Linked DNA regions of Homo sapiens: regions 1 and 2 are each linked to region 3. The links are contacts of gene promoters, found by promoter capture Hi-C in blood cells and fetal thymus (Javierre and others, 2016). All regions are on one chromosome and are shown on one strand. Each heading gives the region's core, a stretch centred on a gene start or on the middle of the fragment in contact. The rest is flanking DNA. Distances are from core to core; before and after follow the strand shown.

Region 1 (2,931 bases), core at 166-2,665, 250 kb before region 3:
TATTTTGCATATATATTTTAATAACAAAATTGAGATTACATTGTGCATAGATTTTTATGGCCCTTTTCTCATAAACAGTTTTCTATTTTTTTATTAGCTTATCTTCAAAAACAAGATTTTAATGGCATCAAGGTTTTCTATCATGGATAAATCATAATTTATTCCAACAGTAGATTGTGGGACAATTAAGTTATTTCTGATTTTTTTCTGTGATAATTTATCATGGAATATTCATATGTAGAAGTCTTTTTAAGAGCTTGATTATTTCCCTAGAAATAATCTAGGGGTGGAAATCCTGGGTCTGAGTATTTATATACTTTAAGACTTTAAATACTTTTGCCAAGGTGTTTCGTAGCAGGATACGATAAATGCCCCTTGGTATTATGTATTATATTAAAAGCTTTTGGCCAGGTGTGGGGGCTCTCACCTGTAATCCCAACACTTTGGGAGGCAGAGACAGGAGGATCACTTGAGCCCAGGAGTTTGAGACCAGCCTGGGCAACATAGGGAGACCACATCTCTACAAAAAAAAAAAAAAAATAGCCAGGCATGGTGTTGCATGCCTCTGGCGGGGGCAGAAATCGCACTGCATTTTTAAATTGTATGTTAAAAAATAACTAGTGAGGCTGGGCTCAGTGGCTCACCTGTAATCCTAGCACTTTGGGAGGCCGAGGCGGGTGGATCACCTGAGGTCAGGAGTTCGATACCAGCCTGGCTAACATGATGAAACCCCATCTCTACTAAAAGTACAAAAATTAGTCAGGCATGGTGGTATGTGCTGGTTTGCAATCCCAGCTACTCAGGAGGCTGAGGCAGGGGTATCGCTTGAACCTGCCTGGTGGAGGTTGCAGTGAGCCAAGATTGCCCCACTGCACTCTAGCCTGGGCAACAGAGTGAAACTTGTTCTCAAAATAAATAATAACTAGTGAGGTTGAATATGTATTTATTGGGTACTTTATGATTTATGTATTCATTGCCTCTCTCATTTTTGGGGGAGGGTGTTTTCATTTTGTTGATTTTTTTTTTTTTTTTTTCCTAAAGAGTCAAGCTTGCTCTGTCACCCAGGCTGGAGTGCCAGTGGCATGATCATAGCCCACTGCAGTCTCGAACTCCTGGGCTCAAGGGATCGTCCTGTCCCAGCCTCTTGAGTAGCTGCGATTACAGGCATTAGTCAGCATGTCCAGCTGCATTTTATTCATTTATATGGATTTTTCATATATTAAAGATATTAAAACTTAGACTGTACATATATTCTCATTTCTGTTTGTCTTTTATCTGCTTTTTAATTTAAAAAATGTATAATGCTTTGACATAAGGACGTTTTATCATTTTTATTTAGTTGCACATATCAGTCTCTTCACTTATGGTTTCTTCCTTTGCTTTTGTACCTGGAAAGACTTTTTTTAAGTAAAGGATAACAAGTTAGAAACTCAGCCATATAAATACTGCTTTTGGGAATGTGCGTTTTTACAATCTTTCTGGAAAGCAGTCTAACAATATATGTTAAAATTAAAAATGTGCATACTCTTAGGACCCAGAATTGCAAAGAAATAAACACACCAGAGTATAAAGTTATATGTACAAAGATATAGTTACTGCAGCATTAGTTGTAGTAGCAGAAAACAGGAAACAACCTGAATGTCTATCAGTAAGAGAATGATTAAATACATCCTCTTATACCTCTATTGTAGAATATTGTTCAGCTATACAACAAAGTGAATGGGATCTATGTGTATTGTTGTGGAAGAACATTTGTGATATTTCAGCAGGGGAAAAGCTTCAGAATGACTATAATATTATTCCATTTTAGTATCACAAAGCAGAGCAAACCCCAAACCTCTAAGTGGAACTGGATAAGTATTGAGAATAATGTGGGAGGTTACATACTCCTCTTTTAACATTATTTATTTATTTTTTTTAGTGGGTTGTTATTAGAGGGGAATAGAGGAAAAACTGCTTTATACATATATTTTTCTGTTTGGGTGTTTGCATTTTATTGATTTGTATGAACTTTATATGTTAAAGATATTAATACTTAGTCAAATATTATGAAATAGGCCGGGGGCAGTGGCTCATGCCTGTAATCCCAACACTTTGGGAGGCTGAGGTGGGTGGATCACATGAGGCCAGGAGTTTGAGACCAGCCTGGCCAACATGATGAAACCCCGTCTTTACTAAAAATATAAAAATTACCCAGGCATGCTGGCGGGCGCCTGTAATCCCAGCTACTTGGGAGGCTGAGGCAGGAGAATCACTTGAACCCGGGAGGCAGAGGTTCCAGTGAGCCGAGATCGCACCACTGCACTCCAGCCTGTGCGACAGAGCAAGATTCCATCTCAAAAAAAAAAAAAAAGAAATATTAATGTATTTAATAAATGTGTCATAAATTGAATGCCTATATCTGTAGGCCTTTTGTTGGTCTCTCTGTTCTGTTCCTTTGATCTATTTGATCACTCTTGTGCCAGTGCCACTAGTCTAAACTATCATAACTTTATAGTAGTCCTTGATAGAGAAGAGTAGGGCAAATCCTCGCCAATCTTACTCTTTTTCAGGAGGAACGTATTCTTGGTTCTTTGTTCTCCTATATACATTTTAGAATCAATTTAAGCTCCATTTTTTTAAATTGGCATTTTGATAGGAGTTGCATTGGCTCTCTAAATCCAATTACAGATTAGTGAAGAACTGACATTTTTATAGTAACAAGTCTTTTCAACTGTGAACATCGTTTATCTCTTTATTTACTCAGTTAATAAAGTTTTGTGGGGTTTTTTTTGTTTTGACAGAGATCGCATACCTCTTTTGCTAGATGTATATTAGAATTATTTTGTTTTCAGTGACCCTTAGAGACAGGGTCATGCTCTGTCACCCAGGCTGGAGTACAGTGGCATGATCATAGCTTACTGCAGCCTCCTATTCCCAGGCTCAAACAGT
Region 2 (2,705 bases), core at 54-2,553, 230 kb before region 3:
TCGTCTTTTCTTCCACTTCACTTGTCACTGCTTGGTCTCTCTTGCTGGTTCCTCCTCACCTTCCCAAACTATTGACATTGGAAGGCCTTAGGACTCAGTTTCTGGACCTCTTCTCACTCACTTGGTTGTTCAGTCTTGTATCGTTTACATGATGATAATTCCCAAGTTTATATCTAGCCAGAACCTCTCTTCTGACTTCTAGACTCATATATTTAATTACCCATTTAACATCTCCAGTTGGATATCTAATAGGAATCTCAAACCTTACCTGTCTGAAACTGAGCTTCTTATTATCCCCTCCAAAGTTGTTCCTCTCACTGCCTCCTCATCTCCATTCTAATTACAAGCATCCAGTTACTTAGGCTAAAAATAGTGTAATAGAAGTATCTTTTACTTCTCTCCCTTTCTCACACGCCAAATGTGACCTATCAACAAATCTTGACTACTCTCAAAATATATCCAGAATCTAACAATTTTTTGCCATCTCCACTGCTGCCACCCTGGTCCAAGCCACCATAACTTTTACCTTGTTTATTACAGTAAGCATCCTGACTTATTATCTTCTCCACTTCAGTATGTTTTTAGTAGAGCAGCCAGAATGATCCTTTTAGAATCTGAGTTAGACCTTGTTTTACTTGTGCTTAAAGCCCTCTGGTGGGCCGGGTACGGTGGCTCACCCCTGTAATCCCAGCACTTTGGGAGGCCAAGGCAGGCGGATCACCTGAGGTCAGGAGTTGGAGACCAGCCTGGCCAACATGGTGAAACCCCGTCTCTACTAAAAATACAAAAATTAGCTGGGCCTGGTTGCAGGCACCTGTAATCCCAGCATACTCAGGAGGCTGAAGCAGGAGAATTGCTTGAATCCGGGAGGCGGAGGTTGCAGTGAGCTGAGATCACACCACTGCTCTCCAGCCTGGGCGACAAGAGTGAAACTCCATCTCAAAAAAAAAAAAAAAAAAGCCCTCTGGTGGCTTTCCATCTCACTCACAGTGAAAGCCGGTTCCTTTAAAGAACGCACAGGCCCTACACAGTTTGGGCTTGTTTGATCTGTCAGACCTCATCACTTATTCTCCCCCTTCACTCAGTCTGCCTCAACATAATAGACACATTATTGCATCAGTGCTTTGCTCTTGCCATTCCTGCTGTTTATAATACTTTTCAGCCATTTAGCCTCACAGCCTGCTCCCTTACCTCCTTCAGGCTGTTACCTTAGTGAAGCCTTCCCTAATCACCCTATTTATGTTGCTCCCCTCCCACCTCTTTCTATACCCCTTTCCAACCAAATATTTCTTGTCATAATTTATAGGCATCATACTTTTACTTATCTTTCCCTAACCTAGATTATAAGTTCCATAAGGACGTGAATTTTTGAGTTTTGTTCACGGTTATATTGCTAGTGCTTCAGACAGTGCCTGACAGTATTAGCAGGTGCCCAATAACTGTTGAATGAATGAATGAATGGCAGAAAATTAGAAGTAACTTAGATAGCTAACTAACATTACAGAAATTGTTTAGTAAATTCTGCTATATTCACCAGTTTGGAATAAATGCAGGCACTAAAAAAGTTCATAAAGACTGTAGTCTTGTAGGGAAATGCTCTTGATAGACAATTAAATTGCATTCAGACTTCAGCAAGGGTTATTGATTGCCTACCGTGGAGAAATATACTGGTTAAGTGGTGACTGTAGAGTCAGACCCAGATTCAGAGCTCTCATAGCTTTCCCATCATTCACATATCATCTGCTTCCATGAGTGTGCGTGTCTGTTACCACCTAAGACTGGCTTAATCAATAAGAAAACACTCAGACATACTTGGAAGCCTAGAGGAAGGCTGCTTTAAGACTGGTTGATTCAGTGACTCGATGATGTAATTAAAGACCAGGGTTCCTGGACTCCAGCCTGGGCGACAGAGCGAGACACCGTCTCAAAAAAAAAAAAAAAAAAAAAAGCCCAGGGTTCTTTTTCACTCTTCATTGTTTTGTCCAGATTATCAGCTTGATTTAAAGCTGTTTTCCCTCAAAATCATAACTGGCAAGAGCAGTAAAGGTTGTGTGCTTCTTTGTTCAGTCAAATTATATATAGAGAGAAGTACAGACAAGACAGTATGACAGAATGCGTTTCCAAAAAAGAGCAAGGAACTTCCTTTCCATTAGCCCCCAGAATATCTCCTTTTAAATTTCACTGGTCTGAATTAGGTTACATGCCTACAGTTAAACTCATCACTCTGGCTAAAGGAATGGGATTACTCTGATTGATTTATACCAATTAGGCCCCATCCCTGGAGCTAAGGGGTCAGGTTCACTTTCCCTAAAAAAATGGCTACTTGCATGAAAGAGAGGTAGATAAAAATCTGATCATGTTAAGAAAGTGAGTCCCATGCCTATTCCTTGCCTTGAATTGGGGTGTCCTGGGCAGGATTGGCCAACTAAACCAAATGGGACAGATTTACCACCACCGAAAGGAGTTCTCCCAAAGACGGGACAAACAATGCTGGCAGGTCTGAGGAACATCCTCTGCCTAACCTCCCCACACCATCTGCCAACCTCATAGGCATACCTTTTGTATCAGCTATTTCCCCCTGAGCCAACAGGACACCCCCGCAGAAGTAACTGCAGAGCCACATGACTGAGATAGCAATTTTTGACATAGAATAATTAGTTTGACATATCTACTTGGATGTCTCATAAGCAGTTCAGTTCAGAGTG
Region 3 (2,784 bases), core at 11-2,510:
AAGAGGTGATGGTGGCGATAATCCTATGAATGGGTTTTTGATTTCTCTCCTTCCAGGGGATGGGTGGAGAATGCTCATTAAGATTTGTAGTTAGAGGTTAACCATGTGAGCCCCTCATAGAGTCCGTCCCCTGAGGTGGCACAGGAGGGCTGCACATACCAGTTCCTGTCCCGAATCCGGGTCAGGCCCAGTTTCTCCTGGATCTCGTGGGGTTTCATGGCATCGGGCAGGTCCTGCTTGTTGGCGAAGATGAGGATTATGGCGTCCCTCATCTCCCGGTCATTGATAATGCGGTGCAGCTCCTGGCGAGCCTCATCGATGCGGTCGCGGTCGGCGCAGTCCACTACGAAGATGAGACCTTGGGTCCCAGTGTAGTAATGCCGCCAGAGCGGCCGGATCTTGTCCTGGCCGCCCACATCCCATACGTTGAACTTGACATTTTTGTAAGTCACCGTCTCCACGTTGAAACCCACAGTGGGAATGGTGGTCACCGACTGGCCCAGCTTCAACTTGTACAGGATTGTTGTCTTGCCGGCCGCGTCCAGGCCCAACATGAGGATCCGCATTTCCTTGTTCCCGAAGATTTTGGATAGCACCTTCCCCATCGCGTCGGAGGAGCCGGGGCCGGGGGCATTCAGGTGTCCCGGGTCCCCTCAGCCAACAACGCCGCCGCCGCCGCGAAACCGAAACGAAGCCTCTCGGCCGCGAGAGCGCCTTTGCGGCCTGCGTGGGAGTTGCCTCCTAAGGGCAGAGGCCCAGGCCCCCCGCTCACTCGGGCATCACCGACCGCACAACTTGATTTCTCCAGTCGCCGCCGCCACCCGGGCCCTGAGACTGCGCTGGGAGCCGCCGCCCTGCTGAGGCGCGGCCCGGCCCGGAACTGCCCTTCCCCCCGCAGGCGCCGCGCGAGCGCCGCCGCGGTTCCCGCTCCTCCGCCTTCCTCTCACCGCGAGGGAGACTGCAGCCCTCCGGCCCGCCCGCCGGCCTGCGAGCACTGGGCTCCCCACCGACCCAGGACACCCGAGAGGCAGCGCGGCTCCGGGGCCCCGTCAGGTCATGGATCCTCGCGGGAACTCGGTGCGCTGCCTGCAGAGAAACAGAGAGGGAGGGGAGTTACTGCCAGAGCTCCACAAAGGAGCGAAGACCGAGGTGGCCCGCCTTTCCAGCTCGGCCCAAGGGGTTACCTCCAGCCGCCGCCCCGAGCGCGGGCTCCCTCCGGCCTCCAACTCCTCCTCCCAGTTCTGCCGCCGCCGCTGCCGGAAAAGGCGCCGAGGAAACCGCCTCACTTCCCCTCCCGACCACGCAGGCGCAGCAGAGGCCGACCGTTCGGACAAGAGCGACCTCTGTAAGGAGAGCGGCCCGCGCGCCTAGCGTCATGGGCGCCACGCGCCGGAGGGGCGGGGCTACGGCGCCTCGGAGGGCTCGCAGATGCGGCCGGCCCAGAGCCCTCGAACCTCGGACTCTGACTCGCGCCTACCCGTGGCTCTTCTAGCGTCTCCTTCCCTGCTTTTCTCTTTTGCGCTCTGCCCTCCCCTGCCCACCCGAACCAAGGGAGCAGATCTACTGGGGGGCCCTACAGGGTGGGGCCCACGGGCAGCCCGCTCTCTCCACGAACCGAGCTGCCTCCAGGCCTGTTCCCAGACCTCGGTGCCCGCCAGATGCTCTGCGAATTCCCTCCGCCCGCCCCAGCCTTCCCGCACCCTCCGCGCTCCCTGAACGTCCCAGGGAAGCTCTGTTCGCTTTTGTTTTTTTTTTTTTTCCCTTTTTCGCAACCCCTTCTTGGCTTCCTTTATCCCTTGAATTTTGTATGTTTCCTGAAAGACACGTGGGAGGCCAGTGTCTCGTGTGGAATCTGCCAGTCAGTGCAGCGCTTTCCCGGAGTTGAGTTTACTCTGCAGCTCTTTTGAATGTTTGAGCCCTGTCTGCCTATAGGTCTCGTCAAGACCAGCCCATGTTTCTTAAAAACTGCAGTATTATGAAGAGTTCCTGTGCCTTGCCGCGTTTTCACCTTTTTAGAATGCGACATCTGTTCATCTTTAAAATATCATTTTATCTCATACTGTTAGTAGTAGCTTCTTAACTACTACCCATTCTTAACTTTAAGAAGCATAGAATTTAGAATATAGAACGACCGCTTGTATGGCCTGGATCTGGGCACTTAACCTTACTAAGTTTATCTCGTGTAAACTGACCTTGCTAACTCACGTGAGGCTTAAATAATACAATGTGGAAGACTTCAGGGCACATTTTTGGTTTTTTGGTTTTTGTTTGTTTCTTGAGACGGGGTCTCACTCTGTCGCCCAGGCTGGAGTCCAGTTGCACAATCTCGGCTCACTGCAGCCTCCTCATCCTGGGTTCAAGCAGTTCTGCCTTAGCCTCCGGAGCAGCTGGAATTAGGTCGCCCACCACCACGCCCGGCTAATTTTTGTATTTTTAGTAGAGACGGGGTTTCACCATGTTGGCCAGGCTGGTCTCGAAGTCCTGACCTCAGGTGATCCACCCGCCTCGGCCCCCCAAAATGCTGGGATTACAGGCGTGAGCCACTGCGCCCTGCCAAGGACACATTTTTGTATCAAATGGTTAATGATAAAATTAGACTTAAAATAACGTGAAACCTTCAAATATCAAGGGGAGAAAAACAGGAAATGGGTATCTTTGTTTAAAAAGCAAGATGCTATAAACAGCATATGGTAACATACTGTTTTTATTAAACAAATTTAAAATATTAGATAATGGTAGATAGGTTATATGATAACCTTATAAACGTCATTTCAGTCGGAAATA

What was found. Contacts are between HindIII fragments. The CHiCAGO score rates a contact against its expected background, and 5 or more counts as called.
Region 1: a contact is called between a fragment that was not itself captured here and the fragment with the promoter of ARF6 in region 3, in 3 of 17 cell types (total CD4 T cells, non-activated CD4 T cells and total B cells). The highest score is 7.3, in total CD4 T cells.
Region 2: a fragment that was not itself captured here is called in contact with the fragment with the promoter of ARF6 in region 3 in 8 of 17 cell types (naive CD8 T cells, non-activated CD4 T cells, monocytes and 5 more); the score reaches 8.6 in naive CD8 T cells.

Annotation. Positions count from the first base shown.
Region 1 is chr14:50,141,433-50,144,363 of GRCh38, reverse strand. All of the region lies in intron 16 of SOS2 (SOS Ras/Rho guanine nucleotide exchange factor 2), which reads left to right. Among named protein-coding and RNA genes, the nearest start is that of VCPKMT, 26 kb to the right of the region's middle. The HindIII fragment of the contact is 729 bases long and covers 1,051-1,779 here.
Region 2 is chr14:50,121,635-50,124,339 of GRCh38, reverse strand. All of the region lies in intron 21 of SOS2 (SOS Ras/Rho guanine nucleotide exchange factor 2), which reads left to right. Among named protein-coding and RNA genes, the nearest start is that of VCPKMT, 6.4 kb to the right of the region's middle. The HindIII fragment of the contact is 5,022 bases long and covers 1-2,705 here.
Region 3 is chr14:49,891,558-49,894,341 of GRCh38, reverse strand. It overlaps ARF6 (ARF GTPase 6), which reads right to left and starts at 1,260. Exons shown (of 2, transcript NM_001663.4): 1 at 1,185-1,260; 2 at 1-1,086. The coding sequence starts at 605. The coding sequence ends at 78. RefSeq lists enhancers at 331-380, 411-730, 1,601-1,700 and silencers at 891-1,080, 1,121-1,510. The HindIII fragment of the contact is 6,329 bases long and covers 1-2,784 here.